3 separate regions of the Homo sapiens genome follow, and regions 1 and 2 are each linked to region 3. The links are contacts of gene promoters, found by promoter capture Hi-C in blood cells and fetal thymus (Javierre and others, 2016). All regions are on one chromosome and are shown on one strand. The core of a region is centred on a gene start or on the middle of the fragment in contact, and the rest is flanking DNA. Distances in the headings are between cores, read along the strand shown.

The links. The method cuts DNA at HindIII sites, captures the fragments that hold promoters and counts their contacts. A CHiCAGO score of 5 or more calls a contact.
Region 1: a fragment that was not itself captured here is called in contact with the fragment with the promoter of ARF6 in region 3 in 8 of 17 cell types (naive CD8 T cells, non-activated CD4 T cells, monocytes and 5 more); the score reaches 8.6 in naive CD8 T cells.
Region 2: a contact is called between a fragment that was not itself captured here and the fragment with the promoter of ARF6 in region 3, in 3 of 17 cell types (total CD4 T cells, non-activated CD4 T cells and total B cells). The highest score is 7.3, in total CD4 T cells.

Annotation. Positions count from the first base shown.
Region 1 is chr14:50,121,728-50,124,427 of GRCh38, forward strand. All of the region lies in intron 21 of SOS2 (SOS Ras/Rho guanine nucleotide exchange factor 2), which reads right to left. Among named protein-coding and RNA genes, the nearest start is that of VCPKMT, 6.5 kb to the left of the region's middle. The HindIII fragment of the contact is 5,022 bases long and covers 1-2,700 here.
Region 2 is chr14:50,141,340-50,144,213 of GRCh38, forward strand. The region is part of intron 16 of SOS2 (SOS Ras/Rho guanine nucleotide exchange factor 2); the gene reads right to left. Among named protein-coding and RNA genes, the nearest start is that of VCPKMT, 26 kb to the left of the region's middle. The HindIII fragment of the contact is 729 bases long and covers 1,246-1,974 here.
Region 3 is chr14:49,891,501-49,894,434 of GRCh38, forward strand. ARF6 (ARF GTPase 6) reads left to right here and starts at 1,582. Exons shown (of 2, transcript NM_001663.4): 1 at 1,582-1,657; 2 at 1,756-2,934. The coding sequence starts at 2,237. The coding sequence ends at 2,764. RefSeq lists enhancers at 1,142-1,241, 2,112-2,431, 2,462-2,511 and silencers at 1,332-1,721, 1,762-1,951. The HindIII fragment of the contact is 6,329 bases long and covers 1-2,934 here.

The sequences.
Region 1 (2,700 bases), core at 60-2,559, 230 kb after region 3:
CAGTTACTTCTGCGGGGGTGTCCTGTTGGCTCAGGGGGAAATAGCTGATACAAAAGGTATGCCTATGAGGTTGGCAGATGGTGTGGGGAGGTTAGGCAGAGGATGTTCCTCAGACCTGCCAGCATTGTTTGTCCCGTCTTTGGGAGAACTCCTTTCGGTGGTGGTAAATCTGTCCCATTTGGTTTAGTTGGCCAATCCTGCCCAGGACACCCCAATTCAAGGCAAGGAATAGGCATGGGACTCACTTTCTTAACATGATCAGATTTTTATCTACCTCTCTTTCATGCAAGTAGCCATTTTTTTAGGGAAAGTGAACCTGACCCCTTAGCTCCAGGGATGGGGCCTAATTGGTATAAATCAATCAGAGTAATCCCATTCCTTTAGCCAGAGTGATGAGTTTAACTGTAGGCATGTAACCTAATTCAGACCAGTGAAATTTAAAAGGAGATATTCTGGGGGCTAATGGAAAGGAAGTTCCTTGCTCTTTTTTGGAAACGCATTCTGTCATACTGTCTTGTCTGTACTTCTCTCTATATATAATTTGACTGAACAAAGAAGCACACAACCTTTACTGCTCTTGCCAGTTATGATTTTGAGGGAAAACAGCTTTAAATCAAGCTGATAATCTGGACAAAACAATGAAGAGTGAAAAAGAACCCTGGGCTTTTTTTTTTTTTTTTTTTTTTGAGACGGTGTCTCGCTCTGTCGCCCAGGCTGGAGTCCAGGAACCCTGGTCTTTAATTACATCATCGAGTCACTGAATCAACCAGTCTTAAAGCAGCCTTCCTCTAGGCTTCCAAGTATGTCTGAGTGTTTTCTTATTGATTAAGCCAGTCTTAGGTGGTAACAGACACGCACACTCATGGAAGCAGATGATATGTGAATGATGGGAAAGCTATGAGAGCTCTGAATCTGGGTCTGACTCTACAGTCACCACTTAACCAGTATATTTCTCCACGGTAGGCAATCAATAACCCTTGCTGAAGTCTGAATGCAATTTAATTGTCTATCAAGAGCATTTCCCTACAAGACTACAGTCTTTATGAACTTTTTTAGTGCCTGCATTTATTCCAAACTGGTGAATATAGCAGAATTTACTAAACAATTTCTGTAATGTTAGTTAGCTATCTAAGTTACTTCTAATTTTCTGCCATTCATTCATTCATTCAACAGTTATTGGGCACCTGCTAATACTGTCAGGCACTGTCTGAAGCACTAGCAATATAACCGTGAACAAAACTCAAAAATTCACGTCCTTATGGAACTTATAATCTAGGTTAGGGAAAGATAAGTAAAAGTATGATGCCTATAAATTATGACAAGAAATATTTGGTTGGAAAGGGGTATAGAAAGAGGTGGGAGGGGAGCAACATAAATAGGGTGATTAGGGAAGGCTTCACTAAGGTAACAGCCTGAAGGAGGTAAGGGAGCAGGCTGTGAGGCTAAATGGCTGAAAAGTATTATAAACAGCAGGAATGGCAAGAGCAAAGCACTGATGCAATAATGTGTCTATTATGTTGAGGCAGACTGAGTGAAGGGGGAGAATAAGTGATGAGGTCTGACAGATCAAACAAGCCCAAACTGTGTAGGGCCTGTGCGTTCTTTAAAGGAACCGGCTTTCACTGTGAGTGAGATGGAAAGCCACCAGAGGGCTTTTTTTTTTTTTTTTTTGAGATGGAGTTTCACTCTTGTCGCCCAGGCTGGAGAGCAGTGGTGTGATCTCAGCTCACTGCAACCTCCGCCTCCCGGATTCAAGCAATTCTCCTGCTTCAGCCTCCTGAGTATGCTGGGATTACAGGTGCCTGCAACCAGGCCCAGCTAATTTTTGTATTTTTAGTAGAGACGGGGTTTCACCATGTTGGCCAGGCTGGTCTCCAACTCCTGACCTCAGGTGATCCGCCTGCCTTGGCCTCCCAAAGTGCTGGGATTACAGGGGTGAGCCACCGTACCCGGCCCACCAGAGGGCTTTAAGCACAAGTAAAACAAGGTCTAACTCAGATTCTAAAAGGATCATTCTGGCTGCTCTACTAAAAACATACTGAAGTGGAGAAGATAATAAGTCAGGATGCTTACTGTAATAAACAAGGTAAAAGTTATGGTGGCTTGGACCAGGGTGGCAGCAGTGGAGATGGCAAAAAATTGTTAGATTCTGGATATATTTTGAGAGTAGTCAAGATTTGTTGATAGGTCACATTTGGCGTGTGAGAAAGGGAGAGAAGTAAAAGATACTTCTATTACACTATTTTTAGCCTAAGTAACTGGATGCTTGTAATTAGAATGGAGATGAGGAGGCAGTGAGAGGAACAACTTTGGAGGGGATAATAAGAAGCTCAGTTTCAGACAGGTAAGGTTTGAGATTCCTATTAGATATCCAACTGGAGATGTTAAATGGGTAATTAAATATATGAGTCTAGAAGTCAGAAGAGAGGTTCTGGCTAGATATAAACTTGGGAATTATCATCATGTAAACGATACAAGACTGAACAACCAAGTGAGTGAGAAGAGGTCCAGAAACTGAGTCCTAAGGCCTTCCAATGTCAATAGTTTGGGAAGGTGAGGAGGAACCAGCAAGAGAGACCAAGCAGTGACAAGTGAAGTGGAAGAAAAGACGAGACAGTAGGATGAATCTTCATGCATGTAACTTTTTCCAAACATTTATTGGGTATTTTGTATAAATAAAAGGCAGAGGCGTTGTCTTTC
Region 2 (2,874 bases), core at 360-2,859, 250 kb after region 3:
CAACGCCCAATCTCCACATAAAATTTAAAAAATTAGCTGAGCAGGGTGGCACGTGCCTATAGTCCCCACTACTCAGGAGACTAAGGTAGGAAGACTGTTTGAGCCTGGGAATAGGAGGCTGCAGTAAGCTATGATCATGCCACTGTACTCCAGCCTGGGTGACAGAGCATGACCCTGTCTCTAAGGGTCACTGAAAACAAAATAATTCTAATATACATCTAGCAAAAGAGGTATGCGATCTCTGTCAAAACAAAAAAAACCCCACAAAACTTTATTAACTGAGTAAATAAAGAGATAAACGATGTTCACAGTTGAAAAGACTTGTTACTATAAAAATGTCAGTTCTTCACTAATCTGTAATTGGATTTAGAGAGCCAATGCAACTCCTATCAAAATGCCAATTTAAAAAAATGGAGCTTAAATTGATTCTAAAATGTATATAGGAGAACAAAGAACCAAGAATACGTTCCTCCTGAAAAAGAGTAAGATTGGCGAGGATTTGCCCTACTCTTCTCTATCAAGGACTACTATAAAGTTATGATAGTTTAGACTAGTGGCACTGGCACAAGAGTGATCAAATAGATCAAAGGAACAGAACAGAGAGACCAACAAAAGGCCTACAGATATAGGCATTCAATTTATGACACATTTATTAAATACATTAATATTTCTTTTTTTTTTTTTTTGAGATGGAATCTTGCTCTGTCGCACAGGCTGGAGTGCAGTGGTGCGATCTCGGCTCACTGGAACCTCTGCCTCCCGGGTTCAAGTGATTCTCCTGCCTCAGCCTCCCAAGTAGCTGGGATTACAGGCGCCCGCCAGCATGCCTGGGTAATTTTTATATTTTTAGTAAAGACGGGGTTTCATCATGTTGGCCAGGCTGGTCTCAAACTCCTGGCCTCATGTGATCCACCCACCTCAGCCTCCCAAAGTGTTGGGATTACAGGCATGAGCCACTGCCCCCGGCCTATTTCATAATATTTGACTAAGTATTAATATCTTTAACATATAAAGTTCATACAAATCAATAAAATGCAAACACCCAAACAGAAAAATATATGTATAAAGCAGTTTTTCCTCTATTCCCCTCTAATAACAACCCACTAAAAAAAATAAATAAATAATGTTAAAAGAGGAGTATGTAACCTCCCACATTATTCTCAATACTTATCCAGTTCCACTTAGAGGTTTGGGGTTTGCTCTGCTTTGTGATACTAAAATGGAATAATATTATAGTCATTCTGAAGCTTTTCCCCTGCTGAAATATCACAAATGTTCTTCCACAACAATACACATAGATCCCATTCACTTTGTTGTATAGCTGAACAATATTCTACAATAGAGGTATAAGAGGATGTATTTAATCATTCTCTTACTGATAGACATTCAGGTTGTTTCCTGTTTTCTGCTACTACAACTAATGCTGCAGTAACTATATCTTTGTACATATAACTTTATACTCTGGTGTGTTTATTTCTTTGCAATTCTGGGTCCTAAGAGTATGCACATTTTTAATTTTAACATATATTGTTAGACTGCTTTCCAGAAAGATTGTAAAAACGCACATTCCCAAAAGCAGTATTTATATGGCTGAGTTTCTAACTTGTTATCCTTTACTTAAAAAAAGTCTTTCCAGGTACAAAAGCAAAGGAAGAAACCATAAGTGAAGAGACTGATATGTGCAACTAAATAAAAATGATAAAACGTCCTTATGTCAAAGCATTATACATTTTTTAAATTAAAAAGCAGATAAAAGACAAACAGAAATGAGAATATATGTACAGTCTAAGTTTTAATATCTTTAATATATGAAAAATCCATATAAATGAATAAAATGCAGCTGGACATGCTGACTAATGCCTGTAATCGCAGCTACTCAAGAGGCTGGGACAGGACGATCCCTTGAGCCCAGGAGTTCGAGACTGCAGTGGGCTATGATCATGCCACTGGCACTCCAGCCTGGGTGACAGAGCAAGCTTGACTCTTTAGGAAAAAAAAAAAAAAAAAATCAACAAAATGAAAACACCCTCCCCCAAAAATGAGAGAGGCAATGAATACATAAATCATAAAGTACCCAATAAATACATATTCAACCTCACTAGTTATTATTTATTTTGAGAACAAGTTTCACTCTGTTGCCCAGGCTAGAGTGCAGTGGGGCAATCTTGGCTCACTGCAACCTCCACCAGGCAGGTTCAAGCGATACCCCTGCCTCAGCCTCCTGAGTAGCTGGGATTGCAAACCAGCACATACCACCATGCCTGACTAATTTTTGTACTTTTAGTAGAGATGGGGTTTCATCATGTTAGCCAGGCTGGTATCGAACTCCTGACCTCAGGTGATCCACCCGCCTCGGCCTCCCAAAGTGCTAGGATTACAGGTGAGCCACTGAGCCCAGCCTCACTAGTTATTTTTTAACATACAATTTAAAAATGCAGTGCGATTTCTGCCCCCGCCAGAGGCATGCAACACCATGCCTGGCTATTTTTTTTTTTTTTTTGTAGAGATGTGGTCTCCCTATGTTGCCCAGGCTGGTCTCAAACTCCTGGGCTCAAGTGATCCTCCTGTCTCTGCCTCCCAAAGTGTTGGGATTACAGGTGAGAGCCCCCACACCTGGCCAAAAGCTTTTAATATAATACATAATACCAAGGGGCATTTATCGTATCCTGCTACGAAACACCTTGGCAAAAGTATTTAAAGTCTTAAAGTATATAAATACTCAGACCCAGGATTTCCACCCCTAGATTATTTCTAGGGAAATAATCAAGCTCTTAAAAAGACTTCTACATATGAATATTCCATGATAAATTATCACAGAAAAAAATCAGAAATAACTTAATTGTCCCACAATCTACTGTTGGAATAAATTATGAT
Region 3 (2,934 bases), core at 332-2,831:
TTAAGGTAAATGGAAAGTAAATGAAATAATTGTTAGAATATTAATGTTTAATAAGTTTATTTCCGACTGAAATGACGTTTATAAGGTTATCATATAACCTATCTACCATTATCTAATATTTTAAATTTGTTTAATAAAAACAGTATGTTACCATATGCTGTTTATAGCATCTTGCTTTTTAAACAAAGATACCCATTTCCTGTTTTTCTCCCCTTGATATTTGAAGGTTTCACGTTATTTTAAGTCTAATTTTATCATTAACCATTTGATACAAAAATGTGTCCTTGGCAGGGCGCAGTGGCTCACGCCTGTAATCCCAGCATTTTGGGGGGCCGAGGCGGGTGGATCACCTGAGGTCAGGACTTCGAGACCAGCCTGGCCAACATGGTGAAACCCCGTCTCTACTAAAAATACAAAAATTAGCCGGGCGTGGTGGTGGGCGACCTAATTCCAGCTGCTCCGGAGGCTAAGGCAGAACTGCTTGAACCCAGGATGAGGAGGCTGCAGTGAGCCGAGATTGTGCAACTGGACTCCAGCCTGGGCGACAGAGTGAGACCCCGTCTCAAGAAACAAACAAAAACCAAAAAACCAAAAATGTGCCCTGAAGTCTTCCACATTGTATTATTTAAGCCTCACGTGAGTTAGCAAGGTCAGTTTACACGAGATAAACTTAGTAAGGTTAAGTGCCCAGATCCAGGCCATACAAGCGGTCGTTCTATATTCTAAATTCTATGCTTCTTAAAGTTAAGAATGGGTAGTAGTTAAGAAGCTACTACTAACAGTATGAGATAAAATGATATTTTAAAGATGAACAGATGTCGCATTCTAAAAAGGTGAAAACGCGGCAAGGCACAGGAACTCTTCATAATACTGCAGTTTTTAAGAAACATGGGCTGGTCTTGACGAGACCTATAGGCAGACAGGGCTCAAACATTCAAAAGAGCTGCAGAGTAAACTCAACTCCGGGAAAGCGCTGCACTGACTGGCAGATTCCACACGAGACACTGGCCTCCCACGTGTCTTTCAGGAAACATACAAAATTCAAGGGATAAAGGAAGCCAAGAAGGGGTTGCGAAAAAGGGAAAAAAAAAAAAAACAAAAGCGAACAGAGCTTCCCTGGGACGTTCAGGGAGCGCGGAGGGTGCGGGAAGGCTGGGGCGGGCGGAGGGAATTCGCAGAGCATCTGGCGGGCACCGAGGTCTGGGAACAGGCCTGGAGGCAGCTCGGTTCGTGGAGAGAGCGGGCTGCCCGTGGGCCCCACCCTGTAGGGCCCCCCAGTAGATCTGCTCCCTTGGTTCGGGTGGGCAGGGGAGGGCAGAGCGCAAAAGAGAAAAGCAGGGAAGGAGACGCTAGAAGAGCCACGGGTAGGCGCGAGTCAGAGTCCGAGGTTCGAGGGCTCTGGGCCGGCCGCATCTGCGAGCCCTCCGAGGCGCCGTAGCCCCGCCCCTCCGGCGCGTGGCGCCCATGACGCTAGGCGCGCGGGCCGCTCTCCTTACAGAGGTCGCTCTTGTCCGAACGGTCGGCCTCTGCTGCGCCTGCGTGGTCGGGAGGGGAAGTGAGGCGGTTTCCTCGGCGCCTTTTCCGGCAGCGGCGGCGGCAGAACTGGGAGGAGGAGTTGGAGGCCGGAGGGAGCCCGCGCTCGGGGCGGCGGCTGGAGGTAACCCCTTGGGCCGAGCTGGAAAGGCGGGCCACCTCGGTCTTCGCTCCTTTGTGGAGCTCTGGCAGTAACTCCCCTCCCTCTCTGTTTCTCTGCAGGCAGCGCACCGAGTTCCCGCGAGGATCCATGACCTGACGGGGCCCCGGAGCCGCGCTGCCTCTCGGGTGTCCTGGGTCGGTGGGGAGCCCAGTGCTCGCAGGCCGGCGGGCGGGCCGGAGGGCTGCAGTCTCCCTCGCGGTGAGAGGAAGGCGGAGGAGCGGGAACCGCGGCGGCGCTCGCGCGGCGCCTGCGGGGGGAAGGGCAGTTCCGGGCCGGGCCGCGCCTCAGCAGGGCGGCGGCTCCCAGCGCAGTCTCAGGGCCCGGGTGGCGGCGGCGACTGGAGAAATCAAGTTGTGCGGTCGGTGATGCCCGAGTGAGCGGGGGGCCTGGGCCTCTGCCCTTAGGAGGCAACTCCCACGCAGGCCGCAAAGGCGCTCTCGCGGCCGAGAGGCTTCGTTTCGGTTTCGCGGCGGCGGCGGCGTTGTTGGCTGAGGGGACCCGGGACACCTGAATGCCCCCGGCCCCGGCTCCTCCGACGCGATGGGGAAGGTGCTATCCAAAATCTTCGGGAACAAGGAAATGCGGATCCTCATGTTGGGCCTGGACGCGGCCGGCAAGACAACAATCCTGTACAAGTTGAAGCTGGGCCAGTCGGTGACCACCATTCCCACTGTGGGTTTCAACGTGGAGACGGTGACTTACAAAAATGTCAAGTTCAACGTATGGGATGTGGGCGGCCAGGACAAGATCCGGCCGCTCTGGCGGCATTACTACACTGGGACCCAAGGTCTCATCTTCGTAGTGGACTGCGCCGACCGCGACCGCATCGATGAGGCTCGCCAGGAGCTGCACCGCATTATCAATGACCGGGAGATGAGGGACGCCATAATCCTCATCTTCGCCAACAAGCAGGACCTGCCCGATGCCATGAAACCCCACGAGATCCAGGAGAAACTGGGCCTGACCCGGATTCGGGACAGGAACTGGTATGTGCAGCCCTCCTGTGCCACCTCAGGGGACGGACTCTATGAGGGGCTCACATGGTTAACCTCTAACTACAAATCTTAATGAGCATTCTCCACCCATCCCCTGGAAGGAGAGAAATCAAAAACCCATTCATAGGATTATCGCCACCATCACCTCTTTCAATTGCCACTTTCTCTTCTTTTGAATTTGAACTCTGGAGTTACTGTTCTACAGTTTGGCGGGGACGGGGCTTGGGGGTTTTCTCTTTTGTT